Regions from separate parts of the Homo sapiens genome. Here region 2 is linked to region 1. Evidence: promoter capture Hi-C in 16 types of primary human blood cells and fetal thymus (Javierre and others, 2016). All regions are on one chromosome and are shown on one strand. Each heading gives the region's core, a stretch centred on a gene start or on the middle of the fragment in contact. The rest is flanking DNA. Distances are from core to core; before and after follow the strand shown. Region 1 holds the start of WASHC4 (WASH complex subunit 4). Region 2 overlaps HCFC2 (host cell factor C2).

What was found. Contacts are between HindIII fragments. The CHiCAGO score rates a contact against its expected background, and 5 or more counts as called.
Region 2: a contact is called between a fragment that was not itself captured here and the fragment with the promoter of WASHC4 in region 1, in 5 of 17 cell types (total CD4 T cells, total B cells, total CD8 T cells and 2 more). The highest score is 8.4, in total CD4 T cells.

Annotation. Positions count from the first base shown.
Region 1 is chr12:105,106,331-105,113,426 of GRCh38, forward strand. It overlaps WASHC4 (WASH complex subunit 4), which reads left to right and starts at 1,401. Exons shown (of 33, transcript NM_015275.3): 1 at 1,401-1,531; 2 at 4,795-4,934. The coding sequence starts at 1,471. LOC414300 (a long non-coding RNA gene) reads right to left here and starts at 1,312. Exons shown (of 2, transcript NR_121211.1): 1 at 458-1,312. RefSeq lists silencers at 1,210-1,489, 1,700-1,949 and enhancers at 1,510-1,669, 3,508-3,667. The HindIII fragment of the contact is 7,983 bases long and covers 1-7,081 here.
Region 2 is chr12:104,080,675-104,087,955 of GRCh38, forward strand. HCFC2 (host cell factor C2) reads left to right here. Exons shown (of 15, transcript NM_013320.3): 5 at 72-156; 6 at 1,826-1,932; 7 at 2,039-2,227; 8 at 6,173-6,340. Among named protein-coding and RNA genes, the nearest start is that of HCFC2, 20 kb to the left of the region's middle. The HindIII fragment of the contact is 227 bases long and covers 4,515-4,741 here.

The sequences.
Region 1 (7,096 bases), core at 151-2,650:
TCAATTTATCACAATGAGCTGCTGGGAGATTAATTACAGTGATTTAATGCAAATGTTAAGAATCCAGGAAAGTCAAACTCATGGTCACACAGAAAGTACAGGAAAAAAGTTTGTCAGCCATTAGACCCTAAGGATGCCTGTTCTTTTCAAGATTTTTTTTTTCTTTCTGAAATGCCCACTAAGTCTGCCATAGGGTCAGAAAGCAATTTTCTTACATGTTTTATAGTTTCTGCATCTAGCCTGGTGCCTGGTACCCAGTGGGCACTCAATAAACATTTAACTCAGGGCAGATCCAATGACCTCAGAAGAATGCTCTTCAATAGACCTTTTGCCTACATTGATTAGTTCTTTTCGGTACTTTTTAAGATTACAAGAGTAAAACCCTAATAAATTCTCATTGTTAAGGATTCAAAACACATAAGTAGACACATCAAAACTTGAAAATCCTGTTACTCACCAACACATGCTTTTCCCCAGGTAACCACCGTCCTCTGATTTGTCTTCCTATGAATTTACATACACGTAGGCACATACGCGTTTGTATAACTTAAAAACATAAATGTAATCACAAATACACATTACTCTGCAACTGTCTTGTGTCGGTTGTTCATGCCATTATAAATATATTTCATCTATTTTAGCAGCTCTTCAGTGATTCGTAGTATGGATGTATTGAGCTTTATGTAATTCACTTGTAATGAACATTTAGATAGTTTCCTATTAAAAACCACGTTGCTATAAATATTCTTGTGCAAATACGTGTATGCATGTAGAATTTTACACCGATCCCGATTCTCCAAAAATCCAAATTGCAGGTGGGATCATTTTAGAATGTACTTCAATAGCGTTCTTCATCCTGCCTCGCGTTTTTAAAAGGACTGAGTGGAGAGCGGGGAAGAGGTCGTAAGATCCCCTGTTAGGGTGTTCATAAAGTAACTTCTCCTCTCGCACAGAACGTCTTGACTAAAAAACAATCCGTACAGAATGTGCGGGAGAGCTGTAGGAACTCCTACGGTGGCGACAGAGAGGGAAACAGGCTTGTTGGAAGAAGCGCCTGGTCAGCGTTATCCTCGAGGATCATGCCTTCCTGTTAATTCCCCACCCCATCAATTCTACCTTTTTAGGTTAGACTGGGGAGTAACTTTCCCAGGTATTAAAAATCGTCTAGAGAGAGCAGGGCGAAATTAGAGTGCCGAAGTGGCTTGAGAAGCACAGTGAATGGTGGCGAAGCCCGAGCCGGGTCGCAAGACGCCCGCTGGCACTGCCGGCGCCATGGCGGCCGCCTTCGGCCACGGCGGAGGACTCGCTTTCCCAGGGGCCCCCGCGGTCGCAGGGGCAACGAGCCCGGCCGGCCCTCGCGAGCGGAGGCGGGGCCGGGGCCGGAAGTCACGTGCTGTGACAGTAGCTGGGGTGAGGCCGTCGTCGCCGCACGGGCTGGTTGGGGCTGTGTCTGTGGGAGGCGCCGGGGTGATGGCGGTGGAGACTCTGTCCCCGGACTGGGAGTTTGACCGCGTTGACGACGGCTCGCAGAGTAAGGGAGCTGCAGGGCGAGGGCTGCGGGTGGACGCTCCTTCGGCCCGCCGCTGTTCTGGGCTGGGCAGCGCTCCTGCGAGAGGGACGGCTGCGCAGCCGTCTGGTGCGGGACACTTCAGAGCCCTTGGGGTGTGCGAGGGACGCGCTCTCCAGCGTTACTTTCGGGGTTGGGGTCCCAGCCACGGCGGGTCAGGCTGCCCGTTCAGGGCTCGGCGTGTGAGGCGGAGACTCTCCTGGGGAGCCTGCGGTGCCCCGCGGGGAGCGGCGTCCCCCTTCAGCTGCCCCGGGGCTTGGGCGGGGCGCGCCCGGGAGGCCCAGCGGCCCCGGGATCCCAGGCTGCTTCTGTCTCTGGCCTCTTGGGGATTTCGCCAGATTCTGAGCGTTCAGCTCTGGAGGACGCTGATGTCTGGGTTCCTGTTTCGGTTTCCTGTTTTTCTTCTTTTCCTCCCAAATCAACTTTTGCAAGTTTGGGTGTCTTTCCCATCGCGTTGCTATAACCGTAGAAGGGAGCGAAAAAAGAACTTTTCACCCTGCGAAAATAAACACGTGAATGTCATTTTATCATTTTCCAGGCCTTTTATTTATGCTAAGTGATATTTTTCAGTGATGTTCTGCAGTTTCCATCGCAGTTATAAAGGCTTCAAAAATTACAGCAAATCTTCAAATTTTGCTTCACAAGATCGAATTGTCTGATTTTAACTTAGAAGTCTATCCCGAAATAAACAAATTGTGTTTCTTTCAGTAAAATATTGAGGCCAAATTAATTGTAGTGAAACTCTACTTGAAATAAATACAAGTTGGCAATCTGCTTCTTATCTTTGGTCATAGTAATCTGTGTAAGTGATCTAAGAGAGATTGGAGCATGCTGTTTGTGATTTTTTTTTTCCCTCATAGTTTTCCCAAAAGGTGGAACGTTGCTTTTAAAAATTCCGGATGAATTTTGCTTGATTTACGAAGAGAGACTAATGCCTACAATGTTAGATGAATTAGGTTTTACAAGTCTCTCAGAGAAGAGTGAGCTACATCCAGGATGGGTTGCAGTTTTTCACAAAACATTCCTGAGGTCAGGAGTTCAAGACCAGCCTGGCTAACATGGTGAAACCCCGTCTCTACTAAAAAATAAATAGCTGGGCTTGGTGGCGAGCGCCTGTAATTCCAGCTACTTGGGAGGCTGAGGCAGGAGAATCGCTTGAACCCGGCAGGCGGAGGTTGCAGTGAGCCGAGATCGCGCCATTGCACTCTAGCCTGGGTGATAATAAGGTATTAGCTCTTATGCAGCATAAAAATTAACCTTGGAGATAATGACAAAATCTTTTAATTTTTTTTTGTGGAGGGGATTCTGTATTGTTATAAAGTGAACTGTACCTTGTCATATATGTTTTATGGACAAAGATGACGAACTGGTATCTTCAAAAAAAATTGGAATAGAGTTATGTTAATTGAGTTTGAAAATGGTTCAGCCTGGAGTAGAATGGTCTGATTCACTCAACAGATATTTTCTACAACCAGTGGCTGTGCTAGATATTAGGGATAAAAAGATAAAACAAGGAGTGCAGTCTGTTGACAAAGATGAGCATGTTAAGTAGGTTTTTGGAATTTTTACTCTTAAAAAATTACCATGTAGTTCTTATCTCAACTTTTGTTATTTTAACTTTCACCAATTTTACAACCGTTTATTGTCAGCAAGGAACTTTTAATGTTATTTTAGGTTTTCTGTTTCCTGTTTGTGAATCCCTGAACATACTAAAGGAGTGATTTATTGGCGTGGTGTTTCTCTAGCATTGTCTTTTTTTTTTTTTTTTTTTTTCGAGACAAGGTCTCACTCTGTCGCCCAGTGCCGTGGCATCGCCACGGCTCACTGCAGCCTCGACCAGCTGAGCTCAGGTGATCTTCCTACCTCAGCCTCCTTAGTAGCTGGCTGATTTTTTCTTTTTAAATTGGGATAGAGACAAGGTTTTGCCATGTTGAACTCCTGGTCTCAAGCGACCCACCGGCCTTGGCCTCCTAAAGTGTTGGGGTGAGCCACCATGCCCGGCCTAGCATTGTCTTTAAGAAGTCATTTGCTGGTCAAATGCAGCTTTGACTGGTCATTTCCTGTGTAGTTGAGAATAAGACAACTATTTGGGGTTCTGAGAATCTGGGCAGTCTTATATGTAAGCTGTAGGGAAGAGAACACCTCCCTGTGCTTGGCGTTCATTAATTTTTGGTCTGTGAATCATATCTAGACTAATTGTTTTCCAAAATTGCCTAGATTAATGCTATAATAAGACAGAAACCTTAATGAACTAAATGGATTCACCGGATTTAAAACTTTATGTGGTTGAAGAATAAAGGAGAGTGGGGGCTAGGTCTTTATACTTTAATACAGCATGAGTCAGAACACACTTTCTCTTACTTGCTTCACATTGCTAATTTGAGGAGAGCAAATTTTTACCTTTTTTAGAAGACAAAGGTTGAATAAAGTTATTCATATCAATAAAAGAAACTGAGTTGGAGTTGAATTTGTTACCTTTGGGAACAAGTAATGAATTTTTATGTGTAACGTGAAATACTTTGACGAATAGGCATATTTTAAAATCCAGCTTATTCCAATGATTCCTTAAAGTTACCTATGAATGTGTTAATTCTGTGAAGAACAGCATAGTATTCTGTAGTCAAGCAGTGTTCTTTGCTGGTTTTTCCAACTTGATTATGACAGTTAAATAATTTAACAAATATCTTGGTTAAATTTTAGACATTATAGAAATAATATGCTCAAGCAGGTATAAAACCTCCATTTAAAAATATTTAGGTGTATTATTAAACATTAGTGTGTATAGAATTAAAAACTACATTTTTAAGTGTTACTTCTGTGACAGACTGTTTTTTTCACCTTCAGATCATGAATATTTGTTTTTGCAAAAGAGTTGTTCATGACTAAAAGATAGAATCAGGACATTGAATTGTTTAAGGCACTTTTCAGATTGGTTCAAAGCCCTCTATTATGGGGGTAGATGGGCTAGTGGCTTTTTCATAATATGTTAGGGTTTTAAGGTAGTAACTTTATATATGGTAACATCTACTGCTTTTAAAATTATTTCGTGTATAGAGAAGATTGAAAGCTGAATTGTTGTTTAACTTTGGAACTTTATTTTCAGGAAGTCCAGACATTCCAGAGTAATAATTAACAGTGCTTTGCGTGACTTTTGAGGTTATTTGAAGTAAATGTCCTGCAATTCATTACTTGCACTTATCACATACTGTTTTAAAATTTAAACTTAGAAATTCATGCCGAAGTCCAACTTAAGAATTATGGGAAATTTCTTGAGGAGTATACCTCTCAACTGAGAAGAATTGAGGACGCTCTGGATGACTCAATTGGAGATGTTTGGGATTTCAATCTTGATCCTATAGCATTAAAGGTTTGATTTGATTTTTTAAAAATATATGTATATATTTTCTGGACATACTATATCCTGAAAACATAATTTTTTAAAATGGAAAAAGTATTTTTATTTGAAATCTAAGAACAAAATGAAAGTTGGAGAAAATTGTTAATTTCCTTTTCTCTAAGCCATGCAGATGTTTTTTAAATGTGTGTGTTTTCTGTTTAAGAATGACAAACACACAGCCTTTAGTGTCAAAGAATGACACAAACTCCAAGTCTTTGAGCTTGCCTTTGATTTTCATTATTAAGAAAATGAGGGCTGGATAGAATATTCAGGCTTTGTTTTTTCTTGATTGAGACTATTTTACATAGAGTGAAATGCAGATACTCTTAATTTTGCCAAACACTTGTAACTCATATCCCAATTAAGATAGAGAATATTTTCACCATTTCTGAAAAGTTCTCTCATGCTATATAGATGTTAATGTGTGAGTAATTTTTTAATGTATAAAATACATTACTCTTTCCATTTTGAAATATTTCTTTTATCTTTAAAATTAGTTTGTTACCACTTGAAAAATAATTTACATTTTATTGAGCACTTGTGTATTACACACTGTCCTAAGTCACACACTGACTTGTTTTTATAACAGCTTTCTTGAGATATAATTCATATATCATACAATTCACTCATTTAAATTGTATAATTCAGTTGTTTTTAGCATATTCACTGAGTTGTACAACCATCACAACAGTCAATGTTAGAACGTTCTCAGCCCCCAAAAAAGAAACCATGTACCGTGTGATAATCAACCCCCAGTTCATGCCATGGCATACCTGCCCTAGGCAACCACCAGTCAATCTACTTTTTATCTCTATGTGTTTGTCTCCTCTGTACACTTCATATAAATGAAATCATACGATATGTGCTCCTTTGTTGCTGGCTTCTTTAACTTATGTTTTCAAGGCTCATCTATGTTGTCACATGTTTTTAGTACTTTCTTTTTTTGCTGTTGCTGAATAATATTCCATTGTAAGGAATGGATAACCACATTTTATTTATCCATTCATCAGTTGATAGACATTGGATTTTTCTACTATTTGGCTGCTATGAGCATTTGGGCACATGATTTTGTGTAGACATATATAAGTATATTGTATATAAAATGTGTGTACATTGTGTGTATATTTTATACATATGTATATATGGGAGTGGAAATCCTGGGTTATGTGGTAACTATGTTTAACTTTTTGAGGAACTGCCAGAATGTTTTCCAATATGGCTATACCATTTTACATTACTACCAGCACTGCATGAGGGTTCCAGTTTCTCTACATCCTTGCCAGCCTTTATTGTCTTGATTATATTCTTCCTAGTGAATGTGAAAGCTCATTGTGGCTTTGATTTGCATTTCTGATGGCTAATAATGTTGAGCATCTTTTCATGTGCTTATGGCCATGTGTCTGTTTTCTTTGGAGAAATGTCTGTTCACATCCTTTGCCCATTTTTAAATTGGGTTATCTTTTTAGTATTGCATTATAGGACAAGTATTGACTTTTAATTCCCACCACAATCCTATAAAGTAGATACAATGTCATCTCCATTTGTAAATGAGAAAACTAAGGCATAGAAAAGTTAAGTAACTTAGTCAAGTAAGTGACACATTTAGTTAAATAATGAATATCAGGCAGCTTGACTCCAGAGCCTGTGCCCTTATCCAATACCCTGAACTGCCTCACAAATACTTTATATATTTGTAAACTGAAATTACTTTCCTTTGACTTCTTTTCTTGCAGGCTGGATAGACTTAGTCTTACTTTAAAAATCATCCCCCCCCAAATTTGTAATTGTCTCTTTTTGTTCCTCAACACTTCTGTGAGAATCATTGTATGTAAGTTATAGGAACTCTACTAGGAAACTGTCATTCTCAACCTGTACTATCTCTGAGGGTAATAAGTTTCATATATCTGTCACTTGGCATTAAGTAATACATGTTGATTTTTTAAACAGATGCTGTTGGGCTTTCTCGCCATTAAGTAATACTTGTTGATTTTTTTAAGACTTGCTGTTGGGCTTTAAGGGCCTCTTCTAGATAGGATTATAAAATCTGTTTTTTTTCTCAACTCTCAGATTTTATAAAAGGGTGAAATCATCTCTTAGTTTTTATCTTCCCCTACAGAAGCTTTCTAATCTTT
Region 2 (7,281 bases), core at 3,378-5,877, 1.0 Mb before region 1:
TAAAATTATGGAAGTTGAGGTAATTTACTCTTGTTAGATCAAGTTGCTAATATAATTATTTTTACTTTTAGAAACTATGTCATGGTCAAAACCAGAAACTAAAGGGACAGTGCCACTTCCACGAAGCCTTCATACAGCCAGTGTTATAGGAAACAAGTATGGTGGTTTTTTGTATTTTGCTTCTGTTTTTTTTAAAAAAACAACTTAAGAAGCACACAAAGAAAGTAATGCTAGTAGTTTCTTGGAAATAGATTATGAAACTTAACAAAGTTTGATTGTGCTGACTGAAGCTAAAATAATTTGTCTGTAGAAGTTAAAATACTTAATGTGCCATTTTCTTATGCTCTCTCTTTTACTTCTTTGCATTCCTTATAATGCCCTGCCCAGTGTAGGCTTTATGTAAGTGTTAACCTGGGTGTTGCCAAACTAATCACCTAACTCACTTTTCCTTTTTCATATTTTTGGTAGTGCTTCATTTGTACTGAGGCACATGCTCTTAATGATTATGCTTTAGATTGCAATATAGAGTTGATGGTTAGAATACAAACTCTGTGACCAGATTGCCTAAATTCAAGACTCAGCTTTGGCACTTGTCCTGTTTGACCTGGGGCAAGAAAATTTAATCTGTTTGTACCTCACTTTCCTTAAGTATACAATGTGGATTAAAGTAAAACTTACTTGACAAGGCTGTAATGAAGACTAAATGGATTAATACATATGAAATGCTTAGAACAGTTTCTGGTATGAAGTGAGCACTCCATAAATGTTGACTGTTACTACCATCAACAAATTCCCTTATTTGTGCAACATTGTGCCACAATTAGAAGTACTGTTTAATTAGAATTTAATGAAATATTTACTATTGCAGTAATATTAAATATTAAATGTAATAGTTTAGGAAATGACTGTTGTAATTTAGAACCTAGTTTTTTTTTTTTTTTTAAATAAACTCAAAACCAAACAGGATGGTCTTTACATTTAAACAAAATCTTATACATTTTTTTAACTGAAGAGGCATTTTATAAAATGAAATTTTCCATTGAAACCCCAACATATAAAATGGATTTTAAAAAATAGAGCTGTAGCCAGGCGTGGTGGCTCATGCCTATAATCCCAGCACTTTGGGAGGCCAAGGTGGAAGGATGGCCTGAGCCCAGGAGGTTGAGTTTGCAGTGGACCGTTATCATGCCACTGTACTCTAGCCTGGGCAACAGAACAAGATCCTGTCTCAAAAAAAAAAAAAAAAAAAAATCTCTGGTTGGCATAAAAAAAAAAATAGATCTGGTTGACATCAGGTCAAATGGGCCCTGATTTCTGCCTAATGAGCCTTTCTCTTCCAGCAGCCATCAGGCTTGTCTTAAGAACTCCTAGGGCCCTAAAGGAACACAGTTTAAAGTTTTTTGTTTAAGTGATATCAATGACCAAAGTTATATGAAATTTAATCCTCTTCGGTTACTATATGCATACAATTTTAAATTTGACTTTGGATGTCATAGATCAATTGAGTGTCTCTCTGACTGAGGTACCCTTAGTATATTATAGGCAATATTGATTTTTAAGTATATTATAGTTGAAATATTCTTCACTTTAAGTAACTTGCCAGAGAGAAATAATTGTGATTCTGTACTGCTTCATAAAATTGTAAACTCTTGAAAAAAGACCACTTTATTCATCTTCTTATTCCCATTACCTTGACAATGGTAAGCGAATGAATAGTTCTGAAGCTCTGAGTCAACTGATAGGAAATTTTTCTATTCTTAGCACTTCAAATCCAAGAAGTAAAATGAAATAAGCTACTTTATGTTTTTGTTTTGTTGTTGCTCAGGATGTACATTTTTGGTGGATGGGTCCCACATAAGGGGGAAAATACTGAGACTTCACCTCATGATTGTGAATGGAGATGTACCAGTTCATTTTCTTACCTAAATCTGGGTGAGTCTTTTAAGAGTTACTCATTGAATTAATCTTTATTAATAAGATAATTTTTGTAATTTTGTTAAGAACAAAAGATTAGTCATGGATATTTCTATCTTTTCAGATACAACAGAGTGGACCACCCTAGTATCAGATTCTCAGGAAGATAAAAAAAATTCAAGACCAAGACCAAGAGCTGGCCACTGTGCTGTTGCAATCGGCACTCGATTGTATTTTTGGAGTGGAAGAGATGGCTACAAAAAAGCACTGAATAGTCAAGTTTGCTGCAAGGATCTTTGGTATCTTGATACTGGTAGGTAAGAATATTTAACAAATAAACTTTTTCCTTTAGGTAAGCACTCAAATGTCTGCCTTTTGAGACTTACTGTAAATGCTACTACCTCTTGTTTCCCATAATTAAGTATGAATGGAAGAAACAATATGTATAGTTATTCTCCACTCCTGAGAAGTATATAATTATCCTCTCCTTGAGTGTAGGCTGGATTTAAAGACTCCTTTGCAAAGAATAAAGTATGGAAAGGGAAAATAGTAGCTTTACAGAAACCTGGCAAGCACGAGAAACCTGGCAAGCATGAGAAACCTGGCAAGCACTACCTTAATCAAGTGATCAAGGTTAATATCACTAGTGATAAGTTAGTATCATTTACTCCCTAATATCATGTGATAAGTGAAAGTACCTCGGTGGTATTCCCAAATCCATAACCTCAGCCTAACTATGAGAAAACATCAACAAGCCCAAACTGAGGGACATTCTAGATCTTCTACAAAGAATATGTGAGCAGTACTATTCAGAAGTTTCAAAGTGAAGGAAAACAAGGGAAGACTAAGAAATAATCAAAAACTGGAGGAGACAAAGGAGACATTACAACTGAATGTGATGTTGTGTTCCGGATTGGATCCTGGAACAAAAAAAGACATTAATTGAAAAACTGGTGAAATCTGAGTTGTCTATAGTTGAGTTAATAGTATTACACCAATAATTTCTTAGTTTTAACAAATGTGGTAATATTAGGGGAAGCTGGAGAAAAGGGAAAGCTGGGGTCAGGGGGTTATGGCAATGCTGTACTATCTTTGCAACTTTTCTGTAAATCTAAAATTATTTTAAAATAAAAGATTTTAAAAAAATATATTAGAGGCTGGGTGCAGTGGCTCACACCTGTAATCCTAGCACTTTGGGAAGCTGAGGCAGGAGGATTGCTTGGGGCCATGAGTTCAAGACAAGCCCAGGCAACATAGTGAGACCCTCATCTCTACCAAACAAAAAATTAGCCAGGCACAGTGGCTCATGCCTATAGTCCCAGCTTCTTGGGAGGCTGAGGCAAGAGGTTCACTTGAGCCCAGGAGTCTGAGTCTACCTACAGTGAGCTCTGATTGCTCCACTGCACTCCAGCCTGGGTATCAGAGCAAGACCCCATCTCGAAAGGGGGAAAATAATTATTAAAGCACCAAAATTTTTAAAAATGTGTACCTCACATCGATTTTGAATAAATACTGATTGACAGCTGCGTAGCAGGAATTGTTCTAAATGCTGAGAATATAGCAGCGAACAAGACTGATAGTGCGCCTGCTCTCACAAAGAACTTACATTCTGAGGGGGTACGACAGCAAGGAGATAATGAGCAATAGTGAAACAGGTTAACAAAATAAGTTCAGTTTCTGTTAATCATATGAATACATGAGATAGTGGTGTTAGGTATTGGGCGTGGGAGTGGTGGCTGCTTCAGGGTGGGTAGTCAAAAAAGGCTTCTGTGATGAGATGACATGGGATGTGATTCGAATGGTGAGAAGGAGCTACCCACATAAAAAGGCCAGAGAAACCACTGCAGGAGGAGGGAACAGCACATACAAGGAGTCTGAGATGGGAATACTTGGTGTGTTTGGCAACAGATTTGAGCTGGGTAAACAAAGAGGAAAGTGTAGGAATGGAGGTTAGAGAGATGACCACAGGATATAGGGCCTTGAATGTGGTGTTAGAATTTCTAAGTTATTTTTAAAGTACAGTGGGAAGTTTTGTGTAAGTTTGAAGGAGAGATGTGACACATTCTGATGTACATTTTGGAATGGTCACTGGCAGTTGTATGGAAAAAATTGTAGGTGCACACTGCAAGACAAGTTAGAAATCTCTTGCAGTAGTCAAAAAAGCGTTTTAGACTATAGTGGTGACAATGGAGGAGGGGAGGACTGGATAAATTCAGGATATATTTTGGAGTTCTTGTTGACAGAACTGGTTGATAATTTGTGTGGCAAGTGAAAGAAAGGGAAGAATGGAGGATGAAGTTTTTAGCTTGAATTTTACTGAGACAGGGAAGATTGAGAGAAAACAGCATTGTGGAGAAAATCAAGAGTTCCATTTAGACCATGCTAAGTTTGAAATAAGATCAAGCAGGCATTTGAATGAATAGATGAATCTAGAGGCCATTAGAGAAATTAGATCTGGAGATGTAATATGTGATGTTATATGAGAAAAACAGATTATAAAACGTATAATGACTCCAGTGTTTTCAAAATTATAAATAGAAAACTTGGAAGGACACACACCAAAGCATTATCTGAGAGCTGAGATTATACATTTTCTTCAAAGCTTTTCTGTCATTACTTGTCTGTATTTTCTACAGTAGCATGTATTGTTTTTGTAATGTAAAAAGAGTTTAATTTTAAAATTAAGATAGTTGAAAAAATAATGAAACAAGAGAGTAAATGCTTTCTGTGGAAGAAGCATATACTAGCAAGCAAGAAAAAAATATAGAAAATTCAACTTACTAGTTTATCTTTGAAATTGGAAATTATTAACTAAAGTCTAAGGATAAGCTTCAGTCTCTGAAATTGGATGAAAAAAATGTGTATGACTGAATTTTTCTCTGTAGGGATTATATCACTTTGCACAGATTCTCTAAGGGATCTGTGACTTAAAAAGATTTTTAAAAATTGGATTTGAATGGCCTGTTTTTCTATAAACCTTTTCATAATGAGCTTTAGATATCAGTATTCTTCTAAAAGTAATCATGGCTATGATCATAAGGGCAAAATATAGATTTTGCTTTTCCTCTTGATAAGTTAGCATCAGTTTTGGTGGAAGAGGGGGCTCATCTTGTTTTTTTTTTTCTTTTTTTCACTTTTAGTTAAACTTTGCATTTGATAGCATGTAAAAGAGTAATAGAATTCCATGAGGCTTTCTATGAAAAATCACGTTCTTTGCTCGCACCTTTCCTCATTTTACTTGCTTTACAAGCATTTATTTGTTCTTAACTCTGTTAAATGATTCTTTACTTCCATATCTCTATATCACATGCATATATTGTTACTTTGATGTATTTTTTTTTTCATTTAGGCAATAATGTGCTCACTTTCTGCTATGGAAGTTAAGGATTTATCTCTTCCTCCCACCATTTTTTTTTTTTTTTTTTTTGAGGCGGAGTCTCACTCTGCCGCCCAGGCTGGAGTGCAGTGTTGCGACCTCGGCTCACTGCAACCTCCACCTCCCAGATTCAAGTGATTCTTCTGCCTTAGCCTTCCGAGTACCTGGAATTACAGGCGCCAGCCACAACGCCTGGCTAATTTTCGTATTTTTAGTAGAGATGGGGTTTCACCATGTTGGCCAGGCTGCCTTGGCCTCCCAAAGTGCAGGGATTACAGGTGTGAACCACCATGCCCAGCTGGTAGTACAAGTCTTGATAAGGGAGTATTAACTTCAGAGAAGTTATGCTTTTGTAAAATATCATGTCCAAGTTATCTTTGCTAACATTAACAGAATTGCTAAAATGTACGCTGTTGGCTGAAAATTGGCTCATAAAATTAAAGAATATTAGAACTTCTAAGAAAGATAAAATAATGTAGCTTTAATACTTGGCTCCCCTTGCCTCTCCCCAGCCTCCCCCCAAAAACCTTCTAGGATTCCCAGCTTCCCCCAGAAAAACTCCTTCTAGGATTAAACACATTTCCAAATCTGAAGACTCATATAGTTTGGTAGTTTCGTACTGGATTGTTTTGTTTATAGATATATTTGTCTAAGAAAATAAATAAATAAATAAATAAATAAATAAATAAATAGAATAAGAACCCCAAACTATTTTTATTTGACCTACTGTAGCTGTGTTTATCTGAGTAAACTTTCCCTGTCTTGGTAAGCAGATGAAATGTTCATTGCTGATGTTTTCAAAGCTCTGGTCCACACAAATTATATCAGCAAACCATTTATACACTGGAAACTTAAATGTATAATATCATGATTGTTCTATAGAGAAACCACCGGCACCATCTCAAGTACAGCTGATCAAAGCCACTACCAACTCCTTTCATGTCAAGTGGGATGAAGTGTCTACAGTTGAGGGCTATCTTTTGCAGTTGAGTACAGACTTGCCATACCAAGCTGCATCATCAGATTCTTCAGCAGCACCAAATATGCAAGGTAACATAATTTTCATGCTTAAAGTATGTGTGCTCACATGCTTTTAAAAATATATACTGGCCGGGCGCGGTGGCTCACGCCTGTAATCCCAGCACTTTGGGAGGCTGAGGCAGGTGGATCACCTGAGGTCAGGAGTTTGAGACCAGCCTGGTCAACATGGTAAAACCCCATCTCTACTAAAAATGCAAAAATTAGCGGGTATGGTGGTGCATACCTGTAATCCCAGCTACTTGGGAGGCTGAAGCAAAAGTATCACTTGAACCCAGGTAGTGGAGGTTGCAGTGAGCTGAGATCATGCCACTGCACTCCAGCCTGGGCAACAAGCAAGACTCTGTCTTAAAAAAAAAAAAAAAAATTCACACACACACGCACACAAGCACACATATACTGCAGTACGTGTGTGTGTGTGTGTGTGTGTGTGTGTGTGTATGTGTGTGTGTATATATATATACATATATATATATATATATGTATATATATATACACACATACACTGCAGAAAAGTCTGTGATTAGGTTTGGTTTAAGAAATTTTATGACATTAGGTCCATGCCTGATAATTCAAATACATTGTATTTCAGTTCTAAAACTTGGATGTCTTACCATTATGATGTAGTAGAACACATAGACACGTAGGATAGATTGTGTTTTCTGCAGTTCATTTTTATGTACTTTCCTAAATTGACATATTAGTTGACTTCAGCAGATGGCTTTAATTTGCTTTCATAAATATCTTAGCTTTTTTCAAAAGTATTTTTAACTAAATAGGCCTTGGAAGTAAAAGCAAACACAAATTTTGCACATTTTTCCAGAGAGGATTTCAGTCAACTTAAGCAAACTATTAAGAAAACATATAACCTTTGGTAAAGATACTACTTTTTAAACTTTAATATGTAACTTTAAAAATATTTAATTATATTTTATTGAAGCTAGTTAAGAGCA